Linked DNA regions of Homo sapiens: region 1 is linked to region 2. The links are contacts of gene promoters, found by promoter capture Hi-C in blood cells and fetal thymus (Javierre and others, 2016). All regions are on one chromosome and are shown on one strand. Each heading gives the region's core, a stretch centred on a gene start or on the middle of the fragment in contact. The rest is flanking DNA. Distances are from core to core; before and after follow the strand shown.

What was found. The method cuts DNA at HindIII sites, captures the fragments that hold promoters and counts their contacts. A CHiCAGO score of 5 or more calls a contact.
Region 1: a fragment that was not itself captured here is called in contact with the fragment with the promoter of LPIN2 in region 2 in 5 of 17 cell types (naive CD4 T cells, neutrophils, naive CD8 T cells and 2 more); the score reaches 6.0 in naive CD4 T cells.

What each region holds. Positions count from the first base shown.
Region 1 is chr18:2,742,770-2,745,798 of GRCh38, reverse strand. SMCHD1 (structural maintenance of chromosomes flexible hinge domain containing 1) reads right to left here. Exons shown (of 48, transcript NM_015295.3): 29 at 1,871-2,038. Among named protein-coding and RNA genes, the nearest start is that of SMCHD1, 89 kb to the right of the region's middle. The HindIII fragment of the contact is 4,572 bases long and covers 1-3,029 here.
Region 2 is chr18:3,011,569-3,014,814 of GRCh38, reverse strand. LPIN2 (lipin 2) reads left to right here and starts at 1,671. Exons shown (of 20, transcript NM_001375808.2): 1 at 1,671-1,728. RefSeq lists a silencer at 1,281-2,230. The HindIII fragment of the contact is 8,581 bases long and covers 1-3,246 here.

The sequences.
Region 1 (3,029 bases), core at 347-2,846, 270 kb after region 2:
ATTTCTGGATTATTACGGATCTACAAATAACTCTTATAATAAATTTTTGAGCTAACAAGCTGTCATTATTTTTTATATTTGTCCCCCAAAACGATATAAGACAAACATGTCCAGACTTTTTCCACCTCAAAACTGTTCCACACAACTGTTCCAGGTAACAGTCAATCAACAAATACTTCACTGGCATCAGTAGGTATAAAAAGTGGGTTAATTTATGTTTTGTAAGTGCTCCCAGAAAAAAAAATGCACTGGCTTTTCAGTAAAACCCTTTAGTCAACACACTATTATTCTAAAAACTGTGTTTTATAAAGCACACTGTCACAACCAGTTTATCTGCTTTTTAAACTCACAAGTGAAAAAGATCAATCTCAAACTAAGGCATGAGCATGTTAACCTTTCTTAGATGACCTGCCCCTTTACTAAGATAAATTCACCTACTACCATGATTGTGTGACTTCATTTTCTTTTACAGAAAACATGGGCTGGGAACGGTGGCTCACACCTGTAATCCCAGAACTTTGCGAGAATGAGGCAGAAGAATTGCCTGGGCCCAGGAGCTCAAGATCAGCTTGGTCAGCATGGTGAAACCCAGTCTCTATTAAAAATAAATAAAACTTGTTTCAAAGTTAGCTATCACATCAACAGTTAAAAGTCCTGGCCGGGTGCAGTGGCTCATGCCTGTCATCCCAGCACTTCGGGAGGCCAAGGCGGACATATCGCCTGAGGTCAGGAGTTTGAGACCAACCATGGCCAACAGGTGAAACCCTATCTTTATTTAAAATACAAAATTAGCCAGGAATGGTGGCACATGCCTGTAATCCCAGCTACTTGGGAGGCTGAGGCAGGATAATCGCTTGAACCCAGGAGGTGGAGGTTGCAGTGAGCCAAGATCGTGCCAATGCATTCCACACGCCAGCCTGGGTAACAAGAGTGAAACTCTTTCAAAACAAAAACAAAACAAAACAAAACAAACAAAAAAACCATTAAAGCCCTGCTATTCCATAAGCAAATGTCAGAATCTGGACATTTTAAAACTAGAATTCCATCAAAGGATACAAAATTTCAGTTAGGAGTATTAAGTTCAAAAGATCTATTGTATGATGATGACTACAGTTAATAGTATATTACTATTCTTCAAAACTGCTTCATCTATTGCATGTCCTTTCCGTGACAAGATGATTCTTCAAAACTGCTAAGAGAATAGATTTCAAATGTTTTCACCACAAAAAAAAGTATGAGAATATGTGCGTTAATTAGCTTGATTTAGCCATTCCACAATGTATACATATTTCAAAATATGTTGTACACAATAAATATGTACAATTTTTGTCTGTCAATCAAATTAGAATTCTGAAACTTCAGTAAAAAAAAAAAACAGATTTGACAGACATTTACAAAATTAGTATTTAAAATTTAAGTACTTGCATAGGAAGGCATACCGAAGTATTTACGGATATGACTTGATGTCTGAGATATGCTTTTTAAAACTCCAATAAAAAGTTATTAGATTAGTATAAGAAAACAAAGAACAAAATTGGCAAAAATCAGTAACTGTAGAAACTAGGTAATTGGCACATGGGAGTTTGCTACACTATTCTTTTTATTTTTATGCATGCTTGAAATCCTCTGTAATGTAGTTTTTAAGATCTGAATTATTACACTCATTATTTTTAACAAATGAGGACACAATGATGAATCAAATAACAAAGTATTAAGACTCACATTACCTTGCTTTTTTGTTATTTTTACTGTTAACAACTGTTAGTTGTTACTTCAGCAACAAAATATATCTATTCTGATTCACTGACAATCTGAAAGTAATAAGCCATATGATATTAAATTCTTTCAGTGAAGACATGAAGTGACTTACCTCCTTTAGTTCTGGCCAGTCTATAAGGAGAAGTTTAGCAGGAGGTCCAGAAATTAGTTGCACTCGAATAAAGTCAGAAAACTCACGCCAAGTAAAACAAAGATCCTTATTTCCAGGAGGACCTGGAATAAATTTGATGCCTCTTACACTTATACTCTGTGTGTTTTCCTAGTGAGGAAAAGTACATTGAGAAAGACAGGGGGTATCACTTAGTGTTCAGAAAAACAAAATAAAATGTTTTGTCATTAACCCATGGGCGTACAGATGTGTTTCTTGGTAACATGACAGAAAATAAATAGCACCCATGCAATAATGGCATGCCATGCATTTTATTTTCAAGAGAGGAGAAACTGAATTTTTTCTTTCAAGGGGTAGGGGATCTAAAAGGTTCTGGCAATGTCTCTTTATTTTATCTTTTCTTAATTTCCCTCTTCTTTATACTTCCTCCTTTCTGCTACCTGAATAGCTTTTATACTTGTTCTTTCCCTCTGTTTGCAACATTATTTACCAGATATACACACTGTTTGTCTTTAGATTTTTGTACATGATACCTTAATAAGAGGCTCTTCCCTGATCACCTTACTTATTGGCATACTATCTATCCCCTTCTTTACTTCATTTTTCTTACCTCTTATTTCTTATCTATTGCATGTTCTCTCCATGACAAGATGATTTCCACAAGGTCAGGAGCTTTGATTTGTCACTACTCAATCTCTATTACTTAGAATAATGCGTAACACATCATATTAATGAGAATCAATGAAACTAGCCTATAATCTTTGCAATATGACTGAATGATTCCACACTGGCGTGAGTGCTGCAGTATTTGTATTTTAATGGTGACCCTTGATGATTTATTCATCTTAAATTTCTGCTAGGTACAAATCTACTTCATCAAAATTTTATTTTTGTTTCTGGGCTGCTGTAACAATATTTCAGCAAAATTTTAAAATCAGGCCAGGCACAGTGGCTCCTGACTATAATCCCAGCACTTTACGAGGCCAAGGTGGAAGGATCCCTTGAGCCCAGTTCACGACCAGCCTGGGCAACACAGTAAGACCCCGTCTCTACAAAAAATTTTAAAATTAGCCAGGTGTAGTGGCATGCGTCTATAGTCCTAGCTAGTTGGGAGGCTCTGGTGGGAGGATCACTTGAGCCC
Region 2 (3,246 bases), core at 422-2,921:
TGATCGAGTTTCACAGAAAAGCAGAAGGAACTTCAGTGAAGAAGTGGTCGCCTGCTCCCTGAATCCAAGCACTGCCCAGCTACACCAGGCACTGGTGGGAAGAAACTGGGCTGCAGCTGGATCCTTCAAGGAGCAGCTTTGTGTATGCAAATGCCTATTTCAGTACCCTTAGAACTGTATAAATGATCACACACAAGATGCACCTCATAAATTAACTGCCATTTATATAGAAGTAACATAGGCTTCTGTTCATTACTTTCAATCATAGAATAGTAATAGAATAGGCTGCAAATTAAAAACCAGTGTGCACCAATAGTATATAGCACCAGCAATCCAGTTTTTTTTGTTTTTTTTTTTTTTGAGACAGAGTTTCGCTCCCAGGCTGGAGTGAAGTGGCGCAATCTCTGCTCACTGCAACCTCCGCCCCCCGGGTTCAAGTGATTCTACCGCCTCTGCCTCCTAAGTAGCTGGGATTGCAGCCAACATGCCCGGCTAATTTTTGTATTTTTAGTAGAGGCGGGGTTTTGCCACGTTGGCCAGGCTAGTCTCCAACTCCTGACCTCAGGCGATCGACCCGCCTTGGCCTCCCAAAGTGCTGGGATTACCGGCGTGAGCCACCGCGCCGGGCCCCATTTCTTTTCTTTCTGAGACGGAGTCTCTCTGTCGCCAGGCTGGAGTGCAATAGCGCCATCTCGGCTCACTGCAATCTCCGCCTCCCGGGTTCAACTGATTCTCCTGCCTCAGCCTCCTGAGAAGCTGGGATTACAGGCACGCGCCACCACGCCCGGCTGGTTTTTTGTATTTTTAGTAGAGACGGGGGTTTCACCATGTTGGCCAGGCTGGTCTTGAACTCCTGACCTCAAGTGATCCGCCTGCCTCGGCCTTCCAAAGTGCTAGGATTACAGGCGTGAGCCACCCATTTCTTAAAAAGTATATTTTAATGCTGGGGACGGTGGCTCATGCCTGTAATTCCAGTACTTTGGGAGGCCGAGGTGCGGGGATGCTTGAGCCCAGGAGTTGGAGACCAGCCGGGGTAACAGAGCGATAAAAAGAATAAACAAAAAACAACAGAACCCCGGCATATTTTTAAAAATGAGTTGTGTAATAGGATTTTTTTTTTTTCGGTGGAGATGTAAGTAAGCAAAGGAGATGTGCTACTAGTGATCAAAAGGGGATTATAAAACATTCATTCCCTAGACTTTTTTTGCACTTTAACATTCCTTTTTGGCAATTGGGCTCTCAGTCCCACGTGACCTGCCGCAGGGTTGCCATGGGGACCGGAAGAAACTTTTTTTTTTTAAAACAAAGTAAGGCTCCTGTCGCCCGAGGCACTAGAAAATCGAGGCCCCGCCCTCACTTGGCCAGGGGCCCGGGCGCGCAGCCCAGGGACTGGGAGCGGTGAGAAGCCGCACGCCTGGCGCTCGGCGGCGGGGGCGCGGCGCGCGGCCGGGAGCGCGCGTCACGTGGCTGGGGCGGGGCCTGCGCGCTGCCCGCCCGCCAGCTGCCGGCTCGGCCGCCGCAGCCGCGGCGTCCCATTCATGAGGGCCGCCCGACTCAGCTGCGGCCCAGGCGGCTTCCAAGGCAGCGGCGGCTGCGGGCGCTCCGACCCCGCGCGCGCCCCCGACCGGCCCCGCCCCCTCGGCTTCCCTCCCCGGCGGGTCCTAGCCGTCGCAGTCCAGCCGCCGCCTGCCCTCAGCCGCCCGCTGGCCGGGAGCGGAGCCCCTGTGGGTAAGTGGGCGCGGGCCGGGCTCCTCGCAGGCGTCCCTCCGGGGCTGGCGGTGAGTGTCTGCGCCTGGGGGCTTCCCTTGGCGCGGGCCCGGGGCTGTCCTGCCGGAGGCCGGGACCCTCCGGGGCGGCGCGGGTTGAGCCGCCCCTCCTCGCGCCGCGGTCCCCGCTTCCCGGTCCTCGCGTCCCAGTCCCCGCCTCGCCGCGACCGCGCCACGTAGACGCGGCCCCTACCGCCGCCGCCGCAGGACGGACCGGCGGGGTGCGCGGGGAGCCGGGGGCGTCGGGGCGTCAGTGGTGGCTGCTGAGGACTCTGAACCCGCGCAGTTCCCTCGCCGCCGCCCTGGGGATGGTTACCCGAGACCACCCCTACCCCTGGGTTTGGGGCGCGGAGGGGAGTGCGGAAGGCGCGCGGGAGGCCGCGTCTCCATCCCGCCCCCGGCCCTGCGGGAGGGGGCGCCGGGCACGTGATCTGCGGCGAGGCGGGGGCCGCCGAGTTGCTGGTGTTTCTTCCCCGCCGCGCTTTGCCCCGTACCTCCGCCTTCAAGCTGTGTGGACCGGATTCAAATGTGGTTAGTTTTCTCAAAGCCCCCCAGCCCCCGGTGCAGATCTTAATTTGTGAGGAACACGTTCAGATACAGTTTGTACTGAGAGCCTCTCTGTCCACTTCTAACGCCAGCGGATCACCATTTTCTCCACTCGCCTGAACATTTTAAGACTCTTTTCATTGAAAATTCAAGATGACATTTTTTAGGCATAATTATGCAAACCAGTACCAGAAAGATCACCCTTCCTTTCCGAAAAGTACTGGAACTCTGAATACTTGGAAATGCTTTGAAGGACTACTTAGTAAATGGCCAAACTAATTTTTAATGCACATTTGGGGCTTACCCATTTTTTTTTTAATTGAAAACGAGGCTCTAGACTTGGTGTCAAGGTAGGTCCTGTTGAATGAAGTTCTTTACCCAGTAGTGATGATGGGTGTTACTGTTTATTAAAACTTGGCCTGGCTAGATTATAATGTTTTGACAATACAAAGTCGGTTTTGAAATACATTTTGAAATATTTACGAATTATTTAGTGGCCCATACTGGTTTATGTTTTAACGGTCTGGTGTTGATCGTTCTTAGTGGCTTCAGATTGAGAAGAAGTGGCAGGTGATGCTGAAGCGGGGGAGAAGCGGCAGAGCCGGCCACACAGTGCAGGGGATGGAGACAGGTGCTGGGCTGGTCCTCCTGCAGCATCCTCAGTTGTTGGAGGGCAGTCATCCTCAGGCCGTACCCAGCCAGAGAAGAAAAAGAACAGTGTGAAGCCACGTGTGATAGCCGTCCAACATCGGCTCTTCCCTCCAATTACATTGTAGTTGATTGTGGTATGTCAGACTGAAGTATCTCTTTTATTTCGAGACAGAGTCTCACTCTGTCGCCCAGGCTGGAGTGTAGTTGCGCGATCTCCGATCACTGCAATCTCTGCCTCCTCTGTTAAAGCGATTCTTGTGCCCCAGCCTCCCGAGTAGCTGGG